Regions from separate parts of the Homo sapiens genome. Here region 1 is linked to region 2. The links are contacts of gene promoters, found by promoter capture Hi-C in human tissues and cell types (Jung and others, 2019). All regions are on one chromosome and are shown on one strand. Each heading gives the region's core, a stretch centred on a gene start or on the middle of the fragment in contact. The rest is flanking DNA. Distances are from core to core; before and after follow the strand shown. Region 1 holds the start of FAM193A (family with sequence similarity 193 member A). Region 2 holds the start of ADD1 (adducin 1).

Region 1 (5,743 bases), core at 3,096-5,595, 310 kb before region 2:
GGGGTTTTAATGGCTAAATAGCATTCCAAAAAATTGTGCTCCCTTGTGTATATAGCATTTTATCAGTTCATCTGTTTTTTTTTTTTTTTTTTTGAGGCAGAGTCTCACTCGATCTTGGCTCACTGCAACCACCACCTTCCAGGTTCAAGCAATTTTCCCGCCTCTGCCTCCCAAGTAGCTGGGATTATAGGTGCTTGCCACCACGCCCGGCTAATTTTTGTATTTTTAGTAGAGATGGGGTTTCTCCATGTTGGCCAGGCTGGTCCCAAACTCCTGACCTCAGGTGATTCGCCCACCTCGGCCTCCCAAAGTGCTAGGATTACAGGCATGAGCCACCAGGCCCGGCCTGTCATTATTTTTATTCTTTTCTTTCTTTCGTTTTGTTTTGAGTTTTTGAGACGGAGTCTCGCTCTGTGGCCCAGGCTGGAGTGCAGTGGCTTGATCTGGGCTCACCGAAAGCTCCGCCTCCCAGGTTCACGCCATTCTCCTGCCTCAGCCTCCTGAGTAGCTGGGACTACAGGCATCCGCCACCAGGCCCGGCTAATTTTTTGTATTTTCAGTAGAGACGGGGTTTCACCGTGTTAGCCAGGATGGTCTCAATCTCCTGACCTCATGACCCGCCCCACCTCGGCCTCCCAAAGTGCTGGGATTACAGGCGAGAGCCACACTGTGCCCGGCCTCTTTTTTTTTTGACGGAGTTTTGCTCGTTGCCCAAGCTGGAGTGCAATGGCACTATTTCGGCTCACTGCAACCCTTGCCTCCCGGGTTCAAGCGATTCTCCTGCCTCAGCCTCCCGAGTAGCTGGGATTACAAGTGTGTGCCACCATGCCCAGCTAATTTTTGTATTTGTAGTAGAGACGGGGTTTCGCTTTGCTGGCCAGGCTGTCTTGAACTCCCGGCCTCAGGTGATCCGCCCACCTCGGCCTCCCAAACTGCTGGGATTACAGGCATGAGCCAAGGCACCCAGGCCTAATGGTCATTATTGTCATTCATTGATTCAGCAAATAGTAGAGTGCTGGGTGCTCAGCCTCTTGCTTTGCAGTAGCTTGGGTGTCAGAGGTGTGTGAGGCAGGCATTCTCAGGTTCTCTCCTGCCCAATAAAACCTTTTGTCTTTGGGGATACTGGTGACATCATGAATCCCAATCCTGTGCAATGTGCTATGACAAAGGAAAGGACAGGGGTTGAGGCAAGGGGCAGGGACAGCCTATGACACTGAAAAAGAGGCCAGAAACGCATTCCTACCCGCTCTCTCAAAATCCATGTTCAGTGGCAGGATCATCCAAGACCCTGATGGGGCGGGGGGCCTTTTTTCGTCTAGGATGGTATCTGAATGGCTTTAAGGGTAGCTTTCTTCTGATCACATGAGATTTCTGCTTGTGTCATGAAGAATGGGTCAGAGGATCAGGAGGCTGTGGCTGCAGCTGGGGCGGGTTGCGGGGACCCAGGACGAACAGTAGAGCTCGGTTAACGCTGCAAGGGGAGCCTGGCAGGCCGTACATCCCAATGCCAAGCCCGCCGCCTCTCGGCCTGACACCACCGGTGGAACCAAAAAGGGGAAATCATGTCCTTTGTGCCTCTGTGTCTGTGGTAAGCGGGGCCCTCCAGGGGGCGGAGCCGCCGGCAGGGTCCCCCCGTGGCCCGGGTCTCAGGGCAGAGCTCTGCCTGGGGCTCGCAGATGTCTGCAAGGCCGCGGAGGGAGGAGGGTCCAGACGCAAGCCCTTATTTCTGATCTGGACGTCTGCGAGGGTCTGACCCGGCTAGTCGTCCCCGAGGTGCGTGAGTGCGAGGGTGTGGGACACGGCCGGATCGTCCTAGGGCCCCGTGGATTAGCAAGGCACCGGGACCACTGGAGAGGGCTTAACGGGATAGCAGGGAGAGGGCGGGCTCGGGAAGAGCACCCTTTAGGCGAGGGGTTCTCGGGGAACCGACCGGCGTGTCCCAGCCCCAGGCCCGGTCCAAGATTCGCCGGCTCCGCCGCTGCCTCCGCACCCAGGCGGACCCCACCGCACCGCGCCCGGCTTTCCAGCGCTGCCCGAACCCCCGCCCAGCCCACGAGGCAGGGATTCTGTGGTCCTCACTGAGTCATCTGGACCAGAACTAGACTAGCCCAAGGTCACCGGGCGTTCCTGGCGAGGCCAGGGCCGCGCCGCGCCGCCCCTGGTGCATCCCGGGAGCCGCGCCGGTCTGCGGCACCTGGGCGGCGGACAGGGGCGCGGGCGAGGCGGGCGGGGCGGGCGGGCAGCGGACACCGGTCAGAGAGGCGGAACTCCCTGCCGCCAGCCGTGTAGTTTGCCTCGCGGGCGGCGGCGCGGCCTCCTGCCGGCCTAGCCCTACGCCCGACCACAACGCCCAGAAGGCCGCGCGGCGCGGGCGGGACCTGCGGCGACGAGCGAGGCGGTGACATCACCGCCGCATCCAGCTCCCTGGCCCCAGCTCCTCCCAGCGCCCGGGCCCTCGGCCTCGCAAGGCCTGACGGGAATCGTGGTCCACCCCCGGGTACCCCCAGCTGCTGCACGGGCAGCACGGACTTCAGTTCCCGGCGTGTCCTGCGCGCCGAGGCACGTTAACGGCAGGAGGGGGTGGGCAAGCAAAGGGAAAAGCAGAGCCGGGGGGCGGAGTAAGGCGGGGTGGGGGTGGGGGGTGGGGGCCCACACCCCTCCCCCTCCCCGCTGCTCCTTCCCCCTCCCCCGACGTAAACTGGGATCCCTTTCCCCTTGTGTCCGCCATATTGGACTCTAACTCTGGTCAGCCGCGGCGCCGGGACTGTGGACTCGCGGTTCCTCCCGCCCAGCGGCCTGCCCCGCAGCTCCCGCCCGCCCCAGCCCTCCCCGACCCGGACGCGACCCCGCGCAGCGCCCCCCGGCTGGCCGGAGCGCCCGCCGCCGCGGCCGCCTCAGCCTCCCCGCCTTCCCCGCCCTCCGCCGCCGCCCGCGGCCCCCGCGCCCGCTCTGCGCCCCTCTCCCCGCCCGCCATGAGCCCAGCCGACGCCAAGCGCGGGGCCAAGCGCCGGAAGAACAAGCGGGGCGGCGGCGGCGGCTCGGGCGGGGGTAACGGCGGCGCGAGCAGCGGCAAGGCCGGCCCGGCGGCGGCGCTGCGCGGTTCCCAGGCCGCGGGCCTGGCGGCCCCGGGCAGCGCGGCAGGCCTGGTGGGCGGCGCGGCGGCGGCCAACGGGCCTCTCGGCGCGGGCGCGAGCGCGGGCGGCGCCGCCCCCGGAGGCTACTTCGAGGTAAGCGGCGGCAGCGGGCAGGGGTCGATGGCGGTACGCGGTTGCCGTTCCCTCGCGCCTTGGCGGAGCTCGGCCTCCCGCTGTCGGCCCCGGGCCTGGGAGCGGGATGCTGCGGGCGGGCGGATAACGGGTCCTGCGGCGCTGCGCTTGCCGAGGTCCCGGGGCAGGGCGGCAGGTGGGCCGTGCTCGGCGTGACGCGGCCTCTGTCAGCCTCTTGAGAGGAGAACCTGAGCAGAGGCGGCGGGAGGGCTACACCGGGGCCGCCGCTCACGGCGACGGGCTGGTCCGCAGGCTGGAGCAGCCCCTCAACGGGCGGGGACGTCTCCGGGGTGCAGCTCCGCGCACGGCGCTTCGCCTTCCGCTGGACCCGGCGGGTGATACCCGCGAGGCCCGGGCTTCTGTCGTGGCGCCTCGCCCGCTGCGGCGGTTCCAGAGCGACTGCGATTCCGGGAGTGAGCAAAGCTGCCCTTTCGCTCCCAGGGCTTTGAAATGTTTCTCTGGCCACCTTCGTTATTCCGTGCGCGTGATGATTGAGAAGGGCCTCCCGGAAGTTTTCCTTTGGTCCTCCTATGTGGTTATTTGAAATCTACCTGACAGCCACCTGGAGCTGGCAGCCCTGGCCCCTCCTCCCCCGCTTTGTTAAGTTTTCAGGGGTATTTAGTGGTTTGGTTACTCAGGTATGTATTTAGGGTTCGAACTTAAGGAATTTGAAAGGTGATTTTTTTCAGTTTTGTTTATGAAGACAGCTAGCACACATTGCACCTACCAATTATGGATTCCTGCCACTTTTATTCAACCGTTGGTCACAACATTTCAGAGGGTACACTATTTATAAGTGGGTATGCAATTGGCGCAGTCATTTCCAGTTATCCCATTGTCTGCTGAAAGAGAATAGATTTTTTTTGAAAAGTTGCGTTCTTATAATGTTATTTAAACTCTTAAATTATGTAGTTTTAAAGATATTGCAATTAAAAAATGAAAGAAGCGTTGGGAGTATTTTTGTGCTAAATCATGACACAAATTGTTCTTTTTTTTTTTTTCTTTTGAGAACGGAGTCTCGCTCTGTCGCCCAGGCTGGAGTGCAATAATGGCGCGATCTTGGCTCACTGTAACCTCCGCCTCCCGGGTTCAAGCGATTCTCCTGCCTCAGCCTCTCGAGTAGCTGGGACTACAGGCATGCGCCACCATGCCCGGCTAATTTTTGTAGAGACAGGGTTTCACCATGTTGGCCAGGCTGGTCTCGAACTCGTGATCTCAGGTGATCCGCCCACCTTGGCGTCCCAAAGTGCTGGGATTACAGGTGTGAGCCACCGCGCCCGGCCGTTTTTATTATTATTATATTGTTACATTAGGGTCTTGGGCTGTAGTCCTGGACTTCAGTCTCCCGAGATTGCCCTCATCCAGTATCCTGGAGATCAAAACAGGCCGCAGTTCTTGGGATCAAGGATGAGTCTTGAGCGTTTGGATCTTTGGGGTTTTTAAGGGCAGTGTTTGCTGCTGTCGGGTAGGGGAGGGCGGGGGGGGTTTGCCTGTGCATATCCTTACACAAAATATTGATAATTTTTGGTGTAGCTGGATGTGGAATATATTCATTTCTATTGATTCAATAAAAACCAGTTGGTGGCACAATAAAATTCTTAGTTTTAGCCTTTCATACCATTTCAAGTTTTAATAATTTACATTTGCTTTGCAATACTTAGGTAAAATATAACTTTATTATTTTTATTTATTTTTTTTTGAGACAGAGTCTCACTCTGTCGCCCAGGCTGGAGTGCAGTGGTGCGATCTTGGCGCACCGTAACCTCTGTCTCCCGGGTTCAAGCGATTCTCCTGCCTAACCCTCTCAAGTAGCTGGGACTACAGGTACCTGCCACCATGCCTGGCTAATTTTTTTTGTATTTTTAGTAGAGACAGGGATTCACTATGTTGGGCAGGCTGGTCTTGAAGTCCTGACCTCCTGATCCACCTGCTTTGGCCTCTCAAAGTCCTGGAATTACAGGCGTGAGCCACCGTGCCCAGCCCTGCCTTTATTATTTTTGTCGCGTTATTCAAAATCAGATAACTGTATGCCTATTATTATTAAGATAGGGTCTTGCTATGTTGCCTAGGCTGGCCTTGAGCTTGTGGGCTCAAGGGATCCCTCTCATCTTAGTTTTACTAATTACTAAGGGCACAGACCCTTGCCACTGTGCCCACCTGAGTATTATTTTTGACAGGACTGTGATATTCTGTTAAACTAGTATGCATCAGGGTTTTGTTGTTTTAAAAGAGACACGGTCTCTCTCTGTTGCATAGGCTAGAGTACAGTTGCCTGGTCATAGCTCACTGTAACCTCCAATTTCTGGGCTAAGCAGTCCTTCCATGTAGCTAGGCCTCTAGGTATGTGCCACCATGCCTGGCTAATTTGTTCTTTTAATATAGATACAGGGTCTCACTATGTTACCCAGGCTTGTCTTGAACTCTTGACCTCAAGTGATCCTCCCATCTCTGCCTCCCAAAGTGCTGGGATTACAGGC
Region 2 (5,701 bases), core at 626-3,125:
CTCTCTGAATTTGACTACTCTAGACACCTCATACAAGTGGAATCATACATTTATCTTTTTGTGATTGGGTTATTTCACATAGCATGTCTTCAGTGTTCATCCATGTTGTAGCATGCGTCAGAATTTCCTTTCTTTTGGCCAGGCATCGTGGTTTATGGGTTTATGCCTGTAATCCCAGCACTTTGGGAGGCTGAGTTTGGATTTGGGAAGATTGCTTGAGCCTAGGAGTTTGAGACCAGCCCTGGCAACATAGTGAGATCCCGTCTCTACAAAAAATAACAAAAATTAGCCAGGCATGTTGGCACGTGCTGGTAGTCCCAGCTACTTGGGAGGCTGAGGCAGGAGGATCCCTTGAGCCTAGGAGGTCAAGGCTGCAGTGAGCCATGGTTGCAACACTGCACTGCAGCCTGGGCGACAGAGACCCTGACTCCAAAAAAAAAAAAAAAAAAAAAAAAAAGGCACAAAACCCCAATAAATAGAATTTCCTTCTCTGCATAATGCTGCTATGAACATGGTACAAATAGCTGTTTTCATTTCTTTGGGGTATATATCCAGAAGTGGAATTGCTGGATTATGTGGTAATTATGTTTAATTTTTTGAGGAACCACTCTACGGTTTTCCACAGCAGCCACACCATTTTACATTCCCGTCAGCGATGCACAAAGGGTTCCAATTTCTCCGCATCTTTGCCAACACTTATTTTCTTTTTTTCCTCTTCTTCCTCCTTCTCCCCCCTTGAAACTTTTTGTTTTCTTCTCGTTTTTGTAGAGAACAGGGTCTCCTTATGTTGTCCAGTCAAGTCTGCCAACTCCTGGGCTCAGGCTATCCTCCTGTTTCTGCCTCCCTAAGTGCTGGGATTTTAGGCTGAAGCCACTGCGCCCAACTCCCTGCTTCTTCAACTGCCATCCTAATGAATGTTAAGTGGTATCCCACAGTGGTTTTGATTTGCGTTTCCCTAGTGATTAACTATGGGAAGCAGAAGTGAATGAGACAGAATTGTGATCTTGTCAGAAAAATCGTCTTGGAAAAGCCAACGTCCAACAGAAATGGTTAGAACAGGGGTCGCTGGCTTCCATCCAGACAGTATCCCTGACCCTTGTTGGGGCAATGTCACAGAGGCTCCTGCTGAGCAGGGAGGTCTGGATTCCACACTCTTCTGCCACTGCCCAGCTCTGGACCTAAGCTTTCTATGGGTGTCAAGAGGACAAGCAGCCGTGCCCATTTGTCTCGCTGCTTGTTTTTTTGGGTGTCAGATGCGCCAGCAGGAGGGACAGTGTGCGGGAAGGTGCTGGTCTGAGGCTGGTCCTGCCAAAGCCCCGCAGGCTCACTCCCTGGTCGTGCGGAGGTGGCTGGTGCTCGCTGGTCTCCTCAGCACCCGCAGGCCGGGCCCGGGGGCCAGGCAGTTGTCCTCTGTGGAGCCTTATCGGGGCCCACAGGCCCTGCTGCCTTGACCCCACCCGGGCCCCAAAACTCGGCCTGGGGACTGCACAAGGCGGGGCTACGCGGGGCAGGGCCCGTCTGCTGGGGGAGTGCGCTGGGCGGCGGCGGGAGGGCAGGGTCCCTGGGCTCCGACAGCCCCTCCGGCGGAGGTCAATCACAATGAAACCGTGTCCAGCGGACCCGGCAGGGGCTCGCCGCAGTCTACCTGGCCACCGTGAAGCCATGACCTGGCGCCCGAAGCTGCCGGCCGGGGTGTACTCCGCGCGGGACCCTGGGCCTCCGCAGGCCCCGGCGGGGTCGCCCCGAGGCGGGCCTGGCGAGTCCAATCGCCCTGCCCGCAGGGGACCCGCCCCTCATGGGTCCCGCCAATCGCAGGGTACGTTGCTCGGCAGTGCTGCGCGGCTTGGCCTATGGGACGGCGCGTTGTTGGGCTGCAGCGCCGCAGGCCGCACCCAGGTCGGGCGGTGGGGGCGAGCGGAGGGGCTGAGGGGCGGAGAGGCCTGGCGGGCCGCTGCTGCGGGCCAGGGGACGGGGGCGGAGCCGGAGCCGGAGCCGACGGGCGGTGGCCGCACTGGGACCCCGGAATCCCGCGCGCTGCCCACGATTCGCTTCTGAGGTGAGGCTAGCTAGCGGGGGCGGCGGGGGCCCGGTTCGGGCTGAGGCGGCGGCGGGGGCGCGGGGAACTGGGCCGCGGTTGCGGCGGGCGGGGGCCGCGGGGCCTGCGGCGGCCCGGGCAGCCTCGGGGGCGGGGAGGCCGCTGCGGCGCCGAGGGCGTCTTGGAGGGGTCCCCGCGGGGCCTTCGGCCTGGGCCGAGCCGGGGAGCGAGGGCGCCGCAGATCTTTCATCGGGATAGGACCCCGGGGACTAGGCTTTTCCCGGGCCGCTCGTTCCTGGCCGGCTTGTGGGCTGCAGGGGTGGGGGCGGAGGAGGACGACCCTGGCTGGACGCTGGTCAGCATCCTGCTTGTGAGACCGGTTCCGCGGTCCGCAGCGCTGGTGGCTGCAAGGTTTGTGTACGGACGCATCTGTCGGCTCTCGTATTTAAAAACGACGGCTTCTGCCAAAAGAGAAAAGCCATATCTGCCGACGGACGCTCGAGAGATAATCGTGGAACTTTATCAGCGATGGGGCTGTTGGTCACCTTTGCCCTCCCTCTCTTTTCTTTTTTCTTAATCTTTTATTTTCGTTTTTTGGGAGATGTCAGAGGGCCTTTCCCTGTTAGGATGACTTTTATCTTTGCTCTTGTAATGGCTCAAGATAGTTGGGAGGTAATTTGCATTCACTTTATGCATACCCACCTTGAAAAACGTATTTTGGTTCGCCTGAAACTGTTGTTGGTTTGAGCATAATTTATGTTTAGAAAGACAAAAAGCAATTGTCATATCTCCAAAGACCAAAGACATAGCTGATAGCTGTATGCATTACTGGTAAGTTAAAGAAAGATTTTTTGTGTGAAAAATTGACTGAGATCTTAATGGGGATAGGAAATAGAATGCTGATAGGTCGACTGTGTCTATGAGTAGAGGCGCCTAGTGAAAACAAGCTTGGAGTGGATGAGTAGGAGTTCAACAGGCACCAGAGAGAGGAGGGCATTTCAGGCAGAGGGTGTGAATTGTATGAAAGTGAGTTTGTAAACTTTGGAGCCTTGAATGGACAAAGGCCCGCGATGATACCTTTTTTTTTTGAGACGGAGTCTCGCTCTGTCGCCAGGCTGGAGTACAGTGGCGCGATCTCCAGTCACTGCAATCTCCGCCTCCCAGGTTCAAGCAATTCTCCTACCTCAGCCTCCCGAGTAGCTGGGACTACAGGCGCGCGCCACCACGCCCAGCTAATTTTTGTATTTTTAGTAGAGACGGGGTTTCACCATGTTGGCCAGGATGGTCTCAGTCTCTTGACCTCGTGATCCGTCCGCCTAGGCCTCCAAAAGTGCTGGGATTACAGGCGTGAGCCACCGCGCCTGGCCTACGTTAAAATTTTAATATACTCCTTTGATTTTGACAGTGGAGAAAACTAGAATAGTAAAGTTGTCTTTTCAGGAAGTGGATGATTTGGGCAGTCAAAACTGCTTTTCAGAGTTTCGATGTGGTTTACAATGGTATGGACAGCTGGTATGATTTGTTAGTTTTCTACTTGTGGTGTCTTTAGGTTTTAAAGTTTCGGAGAGTCGCTGAGTGATGTGAGTCTAAACTCTAGCCAGTCCCCGAATTGTGAGATAGTTTTCCTTCTAAAATATACTTCGTACAAGCTGGTCATTTTTCCCCTTAATTCTTTTGATGTTATCTGATATACTGAGAAGGTTTTGTTTGGTGTTCAGTTTTGTGTTACTGATTTTGCCATAAAAACTGTTTATTTACATGATTTTTAGTTTTTAGTTCTTATAGTCTTTGAATTGAATAAGAAAAGTAAATACTGAAATGCTTTGAAAGATAACAAAATATTTACTTATTGCTTGAAACTTAGAGTTAGATTGACTGCCCTTCCTTTCTTTCCTTCCATGTTTACCTCTTAACATATACACATATGTAGAGAGAATAGTATAAACCCCTTTTCTCAACCAGTTTCAACAGTCAATCTTGCTTCATCATATCCCCGCAGTCCTAGATATCCTTTAACCGTTAAATAGTTCAATATGTATATCTTAAAGACTTAAACAAAAGGTAAACATGAGTACCACTATCACAGAAAATGAATAATTCCTTAATACTTTCAAATATCCAGCCAGTGTTAAAATTGTCAGAATTCTCATTTTTTTTCTTAACAATTTCAATCGATCCACATGCTATCTATACAGTGTGACTCATTTTAATTGATAGTTTCCCCTCCATATTTAGTTTTCTCTTGTAATTTATTTATGGATGAAACCTGGTAGTTTGTCATGTGGAGTTATGCACAGTCTCAATTTTACTCTGTGGCATAGTTTCACAGAATTTACTGAAAACTGGTGGTTAGATCTAAAGGTATGATCAGATTCAGCTTTACTTTTGTCAAGCAAACTTCTTAGGTAAGTAGGCAGAAATGATTAGTAGTCTTTGTTCGCAGCCCTTGATTGTCAGTGCCTACAGTCATTTCAGCAAGCATTGAATATATTGATATTTGAATTCTATAACTTCTTTTATTAAATAGAATATTTTTATAAAGATAATTTTTCATGCCTCCACTATTTGGTTATCTTGAGGTATCTCTTACAGAAAAGGGAGGATAAATGCTTAATTCTTCTCCATTATTTACTAGGTTTCACATAATGAATTGTTTCGCTAATATCCTTCAAAAGTAGCCAATGAAGCTGGGCATGCTAGGATGGGCCTGTAATCGTAGCTGCTCCTGAGGCTAAGATGGTACGAACCTGTGAGCCTGGGAGGTCGAGGCTACAGTGAGCCATGATCACTTCACTGCACTACTCTGTCTCTTTAAAAAAAAAAAAAAAAAAAAGCCGAGCGTGGTGGCTCACACCTGTAATCCCAGCACTTTGGGAGGCCGAGGCGGGCGGATCATGAGGTCAGGAGATCGAGACCATCCTGGCTAACATGGTGAAATCCCGTCTCTACTAAAAACGCAAAAAATTAGCTGGGCGTGGTGGCGGATGCCTGTAGTCCCAGCTACTCGGGAGGCTGAGGCAGGAGAATGGCGTGAACCCGGGAGGCGGAGCTTGCAGTGAGTGGAGATCGCTCCGTTGCACTGTAGCCTGGGCGACACGGAGCGAGACTCCGTCTCAAAAAAACAAAAACAAAAACAAAAAACAAGCTAGGTGCGGTCGCTCACAATCCCGGCACTTTGGGAGGCTGAGGCAGGTGGATCGCCTGAGGTCAGGAGTTTGAGACCAGCCTGGACAACAGTGAAACCTCATCTCTACTAAAAATACAAAAATTAGCTGGGCATGGTGGTGCATGCCTGTAATCCCCACTACTAGGGAGGCTGAGGCAGGAGAATCGCTTGAACCCAGGAGGCGGAGGTCGCAGTGCCATTGCACTCCATTCTGGGCAACAAAAGCGAAACTCCGTCTCAAAAAAAAAAAGGAAGTAAGACTAGGATTCTACTCAACCTTCTCATTTTTATATACCTGTATCTACTTTTCTTCTAAGCCAAACATTTTGGTTCTACTTGCTCACTGTTTCAACCCACACCGTACACATTTCAGTCTCAGAACAAGATGAACACGTGAACCTCGAAAATTTGAGACAGGTCTCGGTTAACTTAGAAAGTTTATTTTGCTAGTGTTGAGAATGTGTGCCTGTGACACAGCCTCCAGAAGTCCTGATTGACAT

The links. Contacts are between HindIII fragments. The study calls those that stand out against the background at their distance.
Region 1: a contact is called between a fragment that was not itself captured here and the fragment with the promoter of ADD1 in region 2, in 1 of the 25 tissues and cell types used here (dorsolateral prefrontal cortex).

What each region holds. Positions count from the first base shown.
Region 1 is chr4:2,533,944-2,539,686 of GRCh38, forward strand. It overlaps FAM193A (family with sequence similarity 193 member A), which reads left to right and starts at 2,704. Exons shown (of 21, transcript NM_001366318.2): 1 at 2,704-3,227. The coding sequence starts at 2,973. RefSeq lists silencers at 1,588-1,747, 3,118-3,407, 3,458-3,617, 3,619-3,913, 3,658-3,707 and 3 more. The HindIII fragment of the contact is 7,680 bases long and covers 506-5,743 here.
Region 2 is chr4:2,841,969-2,847,669 of GRCh38, forward strand. ADD1 (adducin 1) reads left to right here and starts at 1,876. Exons shown (of 16, transcript NM_001354761.2): 1 at 1,876-2,056. RefSeq lists an enhancer at 648-1,159 and silencers at 1,288-1,337, 1,438-1,817, 1,878-2,067, 2,188-2,337. The HindIII fragment of the contact is 4,953 bases long and covers 556-5,508 here.